Regions from separate parts of the Homo sapiens genome. Here region 2 is linked to region 1. Evidence: promoter capture Hi-C in 16 types of primary human blood cells and fetal thymus (Javierre and others, 2016). All regions are on one chromosome and are shown on one strand. Each heading gives the region's core, a stretch centred on a gene start or on the middle of the fragment in contact. The rest is flanking DNA. Distances are from core to core; before and after follow the strand shown.

Evidence for each region. Contacts are between HindIII fragments. The CHiCAGO score rates a contact against its expected background, and 5 or more counts as called.
Region 2: a contact is called between a fragment that was not itself captured here and the fragment with the promoter of SLC22A12 in region 1, in 1 of 17 cell types (M1 macrophages). The highest score is 5.3, in M1 macrophages.

Annotation. Positions count from the first base shown.
Region 1 is chr11:64,585,318-64,592,819 of GRCh38, reverse strand. SLC22A12 (solute carrier family 22 member 12) reads right to left here and starts at 1,600. Exons shown (of 10, transcript NM_144585.4): 1 at 862-1,600; 2 at 1-41. The coding sequence starts at 1,263. The HindIII fragment of the contact is 38,603 bases long and covers 1-3,860 here.
Region 2 is chr11:64,512,052-64,519,399 of GRCh38, reverse strand. No RefSeq gene overlaps it. Among named protein-coding and RNA genes, the nearest start is that of SLC22A11, 40 kb to the left of the region's middle. The HindIII fragment of the contact is 1,095 bases long and covers 3,209-4,303 here.

The sequences.
Region 1 (7,502 bases), core at 351-2,850:
GCCATGGGCTTCAGAGCATGAGAGTCACACACGAGGTTCCACTGATGGGAGAGGAGGAGGCTGAGCTCAGGAGGTTGGGAGAGCCCCAGCAGAGAGGCAGAGGAACCGCATGGGAGGGCCCCCAGGGAGCTGGGTGCGGTGGGTGGTCTGGTGACCTCTAGGGTTTTAGAGCAAGACCCTGTGGAACAGTGAGGGCACCCACAGGCATAGTTTGGCCTTTTGAGGAGTATATCCTGCCACCCTCTGCCTGAACTCTTCCATGGCTCCCTATTGCCCAATGGGTCTCTAGCCACATCTGCCCCTCTCTCCTGTCTCTCCACTTGGAAGCAGCCACCCAAGCTGACACCCTCACCCCTCTCCCAGAGGTTGCTTCCCTCCTGTTCTTTATAAAGAGGTTCTTCCCACTTGTTGGGATGAGCTGCCCCTCTCTGCTTGCCTGGCTTTGCCTGGCGCCCCATCTGGGAGGCAGCCTGGGGTAATCCCTTACTCTGTGTGCTTTGGTCTCGGGGAATCCAGTGAATTGTCACTGAGTCCCCCTGCTGCTGAGTTGCCTGGAGTCACGGCTGACAGGTCAGCAGGGCCAGGACAGGGTGAGGCCGGTGAGTGTCCAGGTGCCAGCATTTAGAGGTGCCCGCCCAGGTGCCCCCCGCACCTCCAAGAGCCTGGGCTGGCCCCATTTGTAGACTGATCCCTGCCGCCCACTTCCCTGTGTGTGGCTGACGAGGGGCTGAGAGGCTCGAGAGTGAGTGGGGCCTGGGGAGGTGGGTCCCTCCCAGGACTGGACCTTTGAGTCTGACCCACCGTGATCCATGACTGACCTCCAAGGTGGTGGGACTCGAGTGGCTCTGGGGGAGGCCCTACCTTGGCCACGATTGTGGAGGTGAAGATGCTGCGGTCATAGACCCAGCCATCCACACACGGCTCCGTGTCGGCCTCGCTCCAGCTGGTGGCCGTGGCATTGGGGTCCAAGAGCTGCCACTGTGGCTGGCGGAAGCGGCGGCACTGGTGGGGCCTCTGGTTGGGGCCCGGCGGGATGGAAATAGCCAGGAGGGCCTCAGGACTCAAGCTCCCTAGGATGCTGGCCTGAGCCGTGCTGTTGTCCAGGAGGGGTGCCCAGCAGCGGTGGCTGGGCACGGCGGCCGAGAAGTTCTCCAGCATGCTCTGGGTACACAGCCACATGATGGAGACCATCAGAGCCATCGTCTGGAGAACCTGGAACCTGCCCAGGCCACCCACGAGGTCCAGGAGTTCAGAAAATGCCATGGAACCTACTCAAGGGGCCCAGAAGAGGGGCCCACTTCACAAAGGCTGGCCCAGGGCAAAGAGGCCAGGGCAACGGGCCTGTTTCCCCCACGGTGGTGCCCACAGTGGCTTCTCCAGCCCAGCGGCTAGGCTTCACAGACTCGGGGCCGGAGGCTCAGGCTCTCTGGTCATCTGCCTGCTGGTGTCACTTGGGGTGGCTCCAACTGGGCCCTGAGGCCGCGTGAGGTGATTCCGAGACCTCCAGCATCTCCCCAGAGAGGCAGCTGCTCCAGACCTCCCGGGAAAGCTGAATTTGGAAAGTAGGGAATGTGGAGACTGAAGACTTTAATTTTAGACTGGAATTAAAGTGTGACCGGTGACACTTATGGAATCGAGTTTAGCAATCATTTCCTTGGTCAAAGTTTAACCCGCGTTGAGGCAGGCACAGACGCGAGGGAGGTGCAGCCTCCTCTGCTTGGGGGCCAGGGCCGGCCTGCTCTGTGCCAGGTCTTGGGGAGGCCTAAGTTTTTCTCCTGGCGGCTGTGGGATGCCAGGGCTGCCTGCTCCCTTCGGTGCCCCTGTGTGCCCACCTCCCAGAGTGGCTGAGCCAAGAGAAGGTGGGCCAGGGGATCCCCCTAATTTGGGGCTGGGGCAGCTGTGCAAGTCTCTGTGTGGGCTTGGGTCACTGGCAGCTGCCCAGCCCCTGCGCCTCCCAGGCTGTGTGGCCTGGCCCCACCCGTGGCTCCTGCCTCCACTCACCTGCTGTGGTTGGCGTCCTGTGCCCGCTTTGCTGTTACCCTGTCCTGAGTCCTCGGTGGAGCTTCCCAGCATCAACAGACACCCCACAGACTCCCCAGGTTCGGTGTGCCCAATGCCACCCTGAGATCTCTGTCCCCTCCCCAAATCTATGCCTCCTGCAGAGCCCCACCTCAGCTATGGCCTCTCATGTCACAGTGTCTGGCCTGGAACCCAGCGTCTTGGTTCACGCCTCCTGCTCCCTGCCTCCCAAATCCACCAGGGGCCAAGCCTGGCTAGTTTTGCCTCCTAAGGATTTCTCTCTCCCACCTCCCCCACTCCACAGCTGTCCCTGCCCTTGTCTTTCTGCCTCAACTCCTGCCCCTGGACCCACCACGCACTGCGAGCCCTTGGGTCAAATCCTGCTTAAAAGCCAAGGGGCTCCCAGTCAACAACAGCTAGTGGTGACTTACTAGGGCAGGTGAGTGGACAGCAGTGTGTGCTGATGCAGGGTGTGGGGTTCAGGAAAGGCTGGACCGAGGCCAAGAGAACCCCCTTGGTCTCGATAGCTAATTCTGTAGGCGAAAGGGCCAGAGAACACAAAGCAGTTAAAAAGTGTGTGTGCATGGCCGGGCGTGGTGGCTCATGCCTGTAATCCCAGCACTTTGGGAGGCCGAGGTGGGGGGATCACTTGAGGTCAAGAGTTCAAGACCAGCTTGGCCAACATGGCAAAAACCCATCTCTACTAAAAATACAAAAGTTAGCTGAGCATGGTCGTGGTGCACAGCTGTAATTCCAGCTACTTGGGAGGCTGAGGCAGGAGAATCTCTTGAACCCAGGAGGCAGAGGTTGCAGCAAGCTGAGATTGCACCACTGCCCTCCAGCCTGGTTGACAGAGAAAGACTCTTATCTCAAAAAAAAAAAAAAAAAGAAAAGAAAAAAAAGAAGTGTATGTATATGTGGGTGTGTGCACATGTCTGTGTATGTGTGCACATGTGTTTGCACAAGTGCATGTGTGTACATGTGTGCATGCGTATATGTGCAGTGCAGCAGTGATGGCAACCCAGGTGTTTGCTCTTATGAGCTTTGGGCATAAAACTCTCCATTTGAGGCATAAATGCCCCTCCCATCTGCTTCTTTTTGCTTCACCGACTCTTCCCGCTGCCCCTCCACATGGCTTACCAAGCCAACTTCTTTGCCTCCCTGGGCTCTGCACCTTGAGTCATCCACTGCTTCCACCACATGCCCTGTACATGCTTTCTCAGTTCCCACCCTTGCTTATGTTGGACCTCCAGCCTGGAATGCTGTCTCCAGGCTCACCCTTAGGCCACATACTGTGTGGAATGGGCACAGTCCAAATACTCCTCCTCCAGCGGGCTCTCTTCACTTATTCCTGCCTACAACTAGGGCTCAGAGTTGTCAGTGGAATCTCATCTTTACACTGTCCTGCATTCTTCTCAAACTCCTGACCTCAGGTGATCTGCCTGCCTTGGCCTCCCAAAGTGGTGTGAGTTGCGGCACCCAGCCATGACCTGCATTCTTCTATTATGGTCCAGTTGGTCTTATTTCCAGTGAGCTCCTGGTAGTCTGGAACCCTTCTTTAGAGGCTCTTTGGAACTGATTTGGACAACAAATAAAGGTTCCATGGAGACTTGCTGAAGTGCATGGATGATTTTTTTAAAAATTTCATTTATTTTCTAATTATGAAATAATTTACACACTTCCTCAAAAATTCAGAACATATTGAAATGAAAATAAAGATCCCTCATATACTCATCAACCAGTGAGTTACACTACTGTTTACAGTTTGGTGTAAATATGTGCAGACTTTGTTTTAGTAACTGATATGTTTAGCTTCATCAGCTTGAGCTGCCAAATAAGCTTTACATTTCCTTTTGTAAAATCCAAAAGAAATACCTCTGCCTTTTAATTAGCGATTTTAACCTGTTCACATTTATTGTAATTATTGACATGTTTGGACTTACTGTATGTTTTCTTGTTTACCACATTTTCCCTTTAAATCTTGGTTTCCTTGTTCCTAATTTCTACTGAATCCATTAAGTTTTCTTGTTATATTCTTCTACTGTCTTGGTCTGTCAGTTGTACGTTTTATTTCTGTTACCCTTATATTTGAACACACAAACCAGGGGTTATTTGATACCATCTTCTCTCTTCAAACCTACCACCTTCTCTTCTATCCTCTCTCTCAATAGATGACCTTTTTTCTTATTTCACTAAAACAATAGAAGCCATCAGAAGCCAACAGTCTAATTCTCTCACCAGCTCACCTGCCTTGGTGCCCCCACATTCTGCCTTCCTTCCACCCAGTTTGGTTTCTCTCTCATCCATGCCAACCCCTCACTGTGTGCCTAGAGCCCACCCCCCTTTGCCTGCTCACATCTCTCTTTGGCATTTGTCTTTCCCTCGCTACTGGATAATTTCCACCAATGTACAAATATGCCATTTTTTTCTGTAGCCTTCCAAAAACTCCCCCTCCATTTGAGCCCCTCTTTCTTCTTAAGCGACTGCCCCACCTTTGCTTGTATTTACAACAAAATTCTATGAAAGTATTATTGACACTCATTTCCAGTTTCTGTCTTCCCATTTTTTTGTTTGTTTTTGGATTCATTCCCATCAAGGTTTTGCCCCTATCACTCTGCTGTCACCAATGACCTCCATGCTGCTAGATTCAATGACATTTTCAGTCCTCATCTTACTTGAGCCATCTGTCTCTGATCTCCATCTGAGAATACTTTCTTCCCTGGGCCTCCAGGACTCACTAGTTCTCAATCTTCTTGGTTGGGTTTTCCTCTTCTCCACACACTGTTAACATTGGAGGCCACTGAGCTCACTCCTTGGTCTTCTCTATATTCTCTATCATCTGGTCCATTCACATCTTTAGCCTGTACCTCTTCTTGGAATGCTAGATTTTGATCCAACTGCCTAATCTTAGGTGCTTAATAAACATCTCACACTTAGTGTGGCCAAAGCTGAGCTCTCCCAAAAAAATGCTTCTCATGCAGCTTTCTCCACTTTTTTTTTTTTAAGTTGAGTCAGAGTCTTGCTCTGTTGCCCAGGCTGGAGTGCAGTGGCGCCATCTTGGCCCATTGCAGTCTCCACTGCCCAGGTTCAAGCAATTCTCATGCCTCAGCCTCCTAAGTAGCTGGGTCTATAGGCATGTGCCACCATGCCCAGCTAATTTTTGTATTTTTAATATCGATGGGGTTTCACCATGTTGGCCAGGCTGGTCTCGAACTCCTGGCCTCAACTGATCTGCCCACCTCGGCCTCCCAAAGTACTGGGATTATAGGCATGAGCCACTGCACCCAGCCCCAAATCACCAGCATTTTAATTTCAGAATGTGTAATTTCCATTTCAGAATCCGTGTTTGGTTCTTCCTATAACTGCTTCTTCTTGTTTCCTAGTTTCCACTTCTTGTTTCATAGGTGGAATAATTTCCTTGATCTCTTAGTGGATATTACGAGTGTTTCTCTTGGGCCAGGCGTGGTGGCTCACGGCCGGAATCCCAGCACTTTGGGAGGCCGAGGCGAGTGGATCACTTGAGGTCAGGAGTTTGAGACCAGCCTGGCCAACATGGGGAAACCCTGCCTCTAGTAAAAATACAAAAATTAGCCAGAGGTGGTGGCACACACCTGTAATCCCAGCTACCAGGGTTGCTGAGGCAGGAGAATTGCTTGAATCCATGAGGCGGAGGTTGCAGTGGAGCCAAGATCACGCCACTGCACTCCAGCCTGGGTGACAGAGCAAGATTCTGTCTCAAAAAAAAAAAAAAAAAAAAAAGAAGAGTGTCTTTCTTCTTAATATCAATATTCATTTGTTGAGCTGAGTGTTGATAATGCACCAGCCACTGCTCTAGGCACAGGGATGCAGCGGTGAACAAACAAGATAATTCCCTGTTCTCATTGATATGTAGAAAGACATGCCAATGAGAGAGGAGAAACACATCAAGAAATAAATGAATATAGTGACAAGTAGTAATCATGCTGTGGAGAGAACAAGATAGCATAAGGGGCAGAGAGTAAGGATCATGTTGCCACTTTGGGTGGGGCAGTCAGGGAAGACTTCTCTGTGGAGGTGGCATTGAAAGAGACCCAAGTAGATGAGGGGACAAGACACACAGTTGACTGGGGAAAGAATATTGCAGGCAGAGGGAAGAGTATTATGCAAAGACCCTGGGGTGGGCATGTGATTTTATGCTCAAGAAGTAGGAAGGAGGCCAGTATGGTTGGGGAGAAGTGAGTGGGAAAAGTAGAGCAGTTTTGGGGCCAAAACATACACTTCCTTATAGGGTTTTGAGGAGAGAAGTGGCATGATCTGACTAATGTTTTTACAAATCTCCCTGGCTGCTGTGTGGAGAACAGACTGAAAATGGGACAAATATAGAAGAAGGGGTTCCCCCAGGAGGCTGTTGGGGTGGATCATGTGAGCAATGAGGGTCAGGGCTAGGGGATTAGGGCAGGTGGAGAGAAATGCTTGGGTTTGGGGCATATTGCTTTTCTTTGACTAAATACAGGGCCGAGGGTGAAGAAAAAGGATAAACTGATGATCAGGTGGGTGGTGGGTGGATGGTGGGCCATTTACAGAGAAGCAGAACACTCGGGGAGAAGCAAGTTTGATGGGAAAATAAATCTTTTTTTGTGTGATGATATTGACATGTCTATTAGCCATCCAGGTGGTGGCATCATGGAGCGACTTGGGAATAATTAGGGGATAAAAGGCATTTTAAGTCACAGGACTGGATAAGCTCACGTAGGGTGCAAGCTTTCATAGCAAAGAGATGACGTTTGTGATGGAGCCTTTGGTCTCTGATGTTGAGAGGTCAGTAAGAGGATGACCCAGCAAAAGAGCTGTGAAGGCAAAACCAGTGAGGCCTGGAAACCAGGACAGCAGGATGCCCCGGAAGCCAGAGTGAAAAGTATCTGACAGAGTCAATCAGCAATGTCACATCCTTGGCCGGGCGCGGTGGCTCACGCCTGTAATCCCAGCACTTTGGGAGGCTGAGGCAGGTGAATCACCTGAGGTCAGAAGTTCGAGACCAGCCTGGCCAACATGGTGAAACCCTGTCTCTACTAAAAATACAAAAAATTAGCCAGGCATGGTGGCACATGCCTGTAATCCCAGCTACTCAGGAGGCTGAGGCAGGAGAATTTCTTGGACCTGGGAGGCAGACGTTGTGGTGAGCCGAGATCACGTCATTGCACTCCAGCCTGGGCAACAAGAGTGAAACTCCATCTCAAAAACAAGGAAACAAAAAAGTCTCATCCTGCTGAGAGGTGGGGTGGGATAAGGTCTAGAATTAGCCCCTGGATTTGGCAGCATGGACTTCTCTGAGGGCCCTGGCTTGAGGGTTTACCGTGGAGGGGTGAGGTGAAGTGCACAGAGGCACAGGACTGTGAGAGTGCTGGAGGCAGGGAAGTGAAGTCGGTGAAGACAGGCAGCTCACCTACGGAGTTTCACTCTAAGGAGAAGCAGGAAAATGGGGATGTGGTTCGCATTAATTAGAG
Region 2 (7,348 bases), core at 2,507-5,006, 76 kb after region 1:
TATCCACTTAGGTAAGGATGTACACAGACTCTGGGCAATGGTAACTGATTGGGCTGGTTCGTCAGAGACTTGGAAGGAACGAGATTGGAAGATCAGAAAAAAATGGCCTGGGAAAGAGTGATGGGAATGAGCAAATGGGAGTGAGCACATTGTCTTACGTCAACACCACCGCTGGCCCCCTGAAATTATCAACTGCAGATGAAGCACTGAAGAACCAGATAGAAAAGGTGACTCAGCCAGCAGAGCTCAACCAGCCTCTGCCCACAGCCACCTCTGCACTTGCACAATGAGTGTGTGCAAGGAGTCGCCACGGTGGTGGGTTGGGAGACCGTGCATGGGTTCACTCCATCTGTGCCTGGAGTCCGGCTCACAAAGGCTGATCCAGCTTCGGCTAAACACCTGCGTGTTCAGGAGCAGAGACTAACGCTAGGCCCTCATTATGGTGTTGTCCCTGGAGGAGACCAACTCGCTATGTGACAGCAGCTTGGTTGCATTTAATCCCCCTACACTGGAGGGAGCAGCAAGCCCTCTGGACCAGAATTGACCCCTACTCCAGGTAGGATTTTACCTTGCCTGACTGCAGGGCTCCAGCTAGTACTCTGGACTCATGTGAGTCTGCGGACTCACGGGGTGTCTAATTTGCCATTATGGGATTGCAAATAACATGGCCTTGAACTGAGAGAATCAAATTACAGCAAAATAGTTGTGATGATGGGCAGGACAAGAGGACCCACTAGGGTCTCCATCTAAGCATCTGCCGGCTGGGTGGAATGTTTGGGGAAGAAACCAGTTTGGGGAAGACACCCTAGGGCACTGGGACACTGAGTTGGAAGGTGCGATCTATACTCTGAACCAATGGCCACCCCATGGTGTGTGTCCCTTATAGTGAGAGGACCCAAGGGGTGAAAGTAGGGGTGGAAGTAGGGGCGGAAGCTCTCACCATCATCCGCAGGACTCCCTGGCGAATTTGTTTCCCATCTCCACGACTTCAAGCTCTGCTTGGACTAGGGGTGTTATTTCCCACTGGGGAAGGGGAATGCTTCAATGGGGACATGTTAAGGACTCCAGTTAGTAGGTGGCATTTGGTGAGGGTGGTTGTATGCTGCCATGTAATAGGAGCAGGAAGGACTTTGTCTGAAGACTGAGGAATTCGCTGCAGCCCCTCCTGGTGCTTGGTATGGTAATAAGTCTGAACGGGCAACTGCAGCAGCCATGGCCTCGCCAGGTGTGGTGACCAGGGGCTCAGACACCTCAGGGATGAAGTCTGCATCACCCCACCAGGCAAGCCACCAAGACCAGCAGAAGTACAGGCCCAGGGTGCAGGGAATCCAGAATAGTTGGTAGAGGAAAGAGATAATGAATGTCAGGTATGGCCCTGGGACCCACTGAGGCGGCAGGGACTGCACTTCGTCCTGCTAATATTCCGGTTGTATTATTTTTTCTTTTTTTGAGAAAGGGTCTCACTCTGTCGCCCAGGCTGCAGGAATGCAGTGGCACAATCACAGCTCACTGCAGCCTCCACCTACTGTGCTCAAGTGATCCTCTCACCTCAGCCTCCCAAGTAGCTGGGACTACAGGTGTGCACCACCATGCCCAGCTAATTGTTTTATTTATTTAGTGGAGACTGGGGTCTCACTATGTTGCCCAGGTTGGTCTTGAGTTCTTGGGCTCAAGTGATCCTCCTGCCCCAGGCTTCCAAAGTGCTGGCACTACAGGCATGAACCACCACACCTGACCTGCCTGTTATTTTTTAGAAATTGTGATAGGCCACAACCTTGAAGAAGCAGGGATGGAGCAGAGTCAACTTTACTTGCAGCATGAGTGCATCTGAGCTGTTCAAGGGGTGAATGATGGCAGATGTTCCCTTAGGTGCCCCACCCAAGTCTCCTCAGCCCTCACTGTTCCAGTGCATGCTGGTGGCATCCTTTTCAAGTGTCTGTCTAAAGGCTCTGTCCCAATGCACAGGGAGAAGACTGGAAGTGCCTGGAAATTAATTCCCCTGCAACATCCTTGCAACATCAGCCAATGATGAAAAGAAGTTTGAAAATAAATACCTCCAGACTGGAATAGCCCCCATGCATGTTCTGCACTGTCTCCAGAGTTCCTCTGCTTTGCATTTCTGTGGCTCACATTGACACTTGCTTGGTAATGCATCCATGGACTTCCTTTACTTTCCTCTTTGGACTTTTACTGTATAGTGTCTACATTCCATTTCACCAATTCTCTCTTCAACTGTGTTCAGTATGTTCTGCAGTCTATACATTGAGTCTTTAATATCAATAATAATACTTTCAGTTCTAGGAATTCTATTAGCTTTTTAAAAAATGTGCCTAGTTATGTTTGAAGTCTCTTATATCTTACTCATGTTTTCAATCCATCTTTTATTTCTTTTAACAGTATAAATATAGTCTGTTTAAAATGTTACATTCATTAATTCTGATACAGGAGCCTTTGGGCTCTGTTTTAATTTTAGCTATCCTAGAAGCTGACCCTGACACAAGTATTTGTGTACAACTTGATTGTTTTCGTAGTCTTAGGAAGCACTAATAGGAGAATGGAGAAGTTTATAGAGGAAAAAAGAAGAAGAAATTATGGGCAAATGAACGGGTGTGATGTGGATAATTCTTAACAAGATGTATAGACTGTATAAAATAGTAATATATTACTTATTTTGAAAGATTAAAAAAACAAACTAAAGCTAAGGCAACTTTTTGTAGTCACTGTAATTCGCCAATGAAATATAAGATGGAATAAGGTGAACTGAAGTGTTCAAACGTCATTGAATTGTTTTTCATAAGCAAGTGGGTCCGTTATTAAACTATTGTCTCATTTCCAAACCAGCCTTCTGTATTCGGTTTTGTGATACTGGTGATGGAACTCTGCAAACATTTCTGCTTTGACAGTCACATCCCTGTTAGGGTCTGCCAATAGGGGGCACTAGAGAGAGACTAACAAGCTGGGCTGGAAGAAGGGACCTGCTCCTTCCAGTTGGCTTCCTGTTCTGATGAGCATCCTCCCAGCAGAGCTGCTTCACCCTGGCTGCAGCAGTTCCTGCAGCTGTGAAATCCAGCTTGCAGTTTTTTAGACATTTGCAAACCAATTTCGTCTTGTCCCCTCTCTATCCCACAGATACACCAGCACCCACCAGAGTTTCTCCTCAGAAGTCTGGGTCCCAAGCCCAGGGGGCCTCTCCTTTAATTACTAAGCTTTAATAATTCCAGCTTCTTCCCTTTGCTCCCTCAGCCCTGGGGGTGGCAGCTGCTGCCTGTGGTTGCTAATCCCTTGATAGGCTACATTTCTCTTTTTTACCATTTTATTTACCTAGTTAACAACTGTTTATCTAGTTAACAATTATTTATATTAAATCCTCTCTGTTCAGATAACTGGGGTGGTTCCTGTCTCTTGACTGTGTGCTAACTGATGCAGCTTCAGAAATTAATAAATTTCTAAAACCTGGAAGAATACAATACTGGAAAAATAAAAACAGTACTTCTTAAAATAAAAGCACTGAGTGAACATAGCATAATTATTTTATAAGATTGAAATGGGAGAAGCCCTTACCAACTATAACACAAAGTTAAGAGGCACAAAAGAAATAAAAAATGAAGAAATTTGACTATATAAATTAAAACATTTCTGGGCTGGGTGCAGTGGCTTACACCCAGTACTTTGGGAGGCTGAGGTGGGAGGATTACTTGAGCTGAGGAGTTTGAGACCAGCCTGGGCAACATAATGACACCTGTCTCTACAAATAATGTTTTCTAAATTAGCTGGGCATTGTGATGTGCACCTGTGGTCCCAGTTATTCAGGAGACTGAGGTAGGAGGATCACCTGAGCCCAAGAAGTCAAGACTGCAGTGAGCCATGATTGTGCCACAGCACTCCAGCCTGGGTGACAGAGATCCTGTATAAAAAAAAAAAAAAATCTGAATGGGAAAAGATGACTTTAAGTAAAATCAAAAAATAGTCAAATTGGAGAAAATAAGTATAATTAATCAAAGACTAATATGTAAAGAACTTCTATAAATAAACAAGAAAGAGGCTAATCACCAAAAGAAAAAATGTCAAAGGGGATGAGTAAACTATTCATTTAAAAAATACAAATAACTTTTTAAAAATAACCTTTTATATTTTGGAATAATTTTAGATTTACAGAAAAATTACAATGATAATACAAAGATTTTCTGTACACCTTTCTTTCAGTTCCCCTAATGCTAACATCTTACATAATAACTGTGGTGTATTTGTCAAAATTAAGGTATTAGCATTAGCACATTCATTACTATTAACCAAATTATAAGCTTTGTTCATATTCTACTAATTTTTCTCAATAATTCCCTTCTCTGTCCCAGGCTCATATCTAGAGTGCCACTCACATGTATGTGTCTCTTTGGTGTCCCCTGGTTGGTGACAGTATCTCCATCTGTCTTTGTTTATCATAACCTCGACAGTTTTGAAGAGTAGTGGTCGGGTATCTCATAGAATGTCCCTCAGTTTAGGATTGTCTGACTTTTTTCATGACTAGAGAGGGGATATGAGTTTAAGGACTCCCTTCATCACATCACAGCAGGGGGTGTGTGTGGTACTCACGTGGCATCATTGGTGATGTTGACCATCATCACGTGGTTTGGATGGTGTCTGCAGTTTCCTCCACGGTAAAGCTACTGTTGTTGCTTCCCATCTTCTATTCTTAGGAAGCCAATCACTAAATCCAGCCCACACTCAAGGGGAGGGGAATTAAACTTCACCATCTACGGGGTGGATATCTACATATATTTTTGGGATTCTTCTATAAGGAAGATTTGTCCCTTCTCCCCCCATTTATTTATTTATTCAATCATTTATTTATATGTGGACTGACGTATATGTATTTATATGTGGACTTATGTATATTTATTTATATGTGAGCTGATGGATATTTATTTATATGTGGACTGATGTATATTTATTTATATGTGGACTGATGTATATTTATTTATATGTGGACTGATGTATATTTATTTATATGCGGACTGATGTATATTTATTTATATGTGGACTGATGTATATTATATGTGGACTGACGTATATTTATTTATGTGTGAACTGATGTATATTTATTTATATGCAGGCTGATGTATATTCATTTATATGTGGACTGATGTATATTTATTTATACGTGGACTGATGTATATTTATTTAATACGTTGGGCTATGGTCCAGCACTACATTATTTATTTTGCTGCTCAAGTGGTTCTTAGGCTGCTGGGAGCCTTTGCAGTTGGTTCCCATGAGCCTTTGACATAACCCCGTCACTGTGGGTTGTTCTGGTTTTGTTGTGTTTTGAGTGCTTCCTTGCTTCCAACACTGAAAGATGCTCCAGGCTGATCTTGTATATTCCCTGCCCCAGACCTAGAATCAGCCATTTCTCCAAGGATCCCCAGTTCCTTTCACTGGAGAATGGCATTTCAAAACCAAGATCTGTATAAATTAATTTAAAACATGAAAATATGCTCAACCTCACTTACAATAACAGAAATATCAATAAAGCTAGAATGATACTGTTATTCACTAATAGATCAACAAAGAACCAAGATTTGATAGGACGTTCTGTTGGAAAAGCCAGGAGGTAAATAGGACCTCTCACTCTACGCTGCTCTAGGTAGATACGGCACAGCCTCAATGGAAAGCATTTGGCAACAGCTGTCAAAATTGATATGCACATATGCTTTGATTTAGCAACTCCACTTCTACCGACCTGCTTGCTGCCTATGAAATAATGGGTAAAAGAAAGGGTTTTTATTGCAATGTTGTTTATAAATTTCAAAGAACTATAAACAACATAAATATATATCAATAGAGAACCTGACATTTAGATTATGGTTCATCAAATTCAATGGAATACAATGCATTTGTAAAAACAAATGAGGAAGCTCTTCACATACTGATGCCAAATGATCTCTAAGACATTTTTCTAAGGACAAGCTAAAACACACTTCAGAGCTGAAGGAGTAAGGTTTGTCTAGGAAAAGCAATATATGCATATTTACACACATACATAATATATATTTCTATATTCATATATACACATTTTACTTTGTGTGCATAAACTTTACCTGGATGGACTCTCAGCTAATGAATAATAGTAATTGCCTATGGGTGGCTGGCTGGGGGACAGGAGTAGAAAAAATAGTTTTCCTTGTAGACTTTTTATGCGTTTTGAATATTGAAACTTTTGAATGTATTACCTACCCTTTCATCAAAAAACAAATTAACACTATGCCTCTAAGTCATTCATGAGTCCATTGAGAAATCATAGTGGAAATCTCTAATACTCAGAACTGAATGGTGGTGAAAATACTACCCACCAAAACTTGTGGGATGCCACCAAAGCAATACTTGTAGGGAAATTCGTAACCATAATGTTCCTATTTGCGAAGAAAATAGGCTGAAAATGGATGGATGTTCCAAATGAGGTCACTGAAAGAGAGGTGGCTCAGGTGGGTTTTTGTTTGTTTGTTTGTTTTAAGACAGGGTCTCACTCTGTCGCCCGGGCTAGAGTGCAGTGCCGTGATCGTAGCTCACTGCAGCCTCAAACTCTTTTGCTCAAATGATCCTCCTGCCTCAGCCTCCTGAATAGCTGGGACTACAGGTTTGTGTCACCATACCCAGCCAATTTTTTAATTTTTTGTAGACATGGTGTCTCACTATGTTACCCAGGCTGGTCTCAAACTCTTGGCCTCAAGTGATCCTCCCTTGACCTCCCAAACCACTGGGATTCCAGGCGTGAGCCACCACACCCAGCCAATAATGTTTAATTCTTTCTCCTAATGGTTTAAAGAGCTTAAAGTGTCCTTGGAGGTCAACAGGTACAACCCGCTCATTTCCTGGTTGGAGAACTGAAGCCAGAAGAAGTCTGGAGACTTCAGTTCTGTCCCCACCTTCTCCTGATCTTTGAAGGTGTCTCTCACTCCTCCTGTGCTCAGTGGCACCCCATAGCAAGTGGTACCAGATGCTCCATGGAAGGGTCTGAGTTGCTGCACATTTAGGAATATGGCCAATGGGTTGATGTGCATTTCTGGCTGTGAGGAAACTGTGTATTCCGAGTACAGTGTGAGCTCAAGCTGGGATGCGAGTTTCTAGCAAATGATGGGGCAGGCCTAGAACCCTGTTTCCTGGAGGAACAGGGGGCAGGAGCGGGCAGGAGAGGCTGATGCATTAACAAGTGCAGGTTGCACTGCAGGGAGCAGGACCCCGAGACCATAACCGACATCAGCCTCTGTGCTCAGCCCAGGCCCCTGCCTAGCCTGGCCACATCCGGGTCCTAGAAAGACCGTGAGTAACAACCTGAAAGAGCTATTCTTGCAAA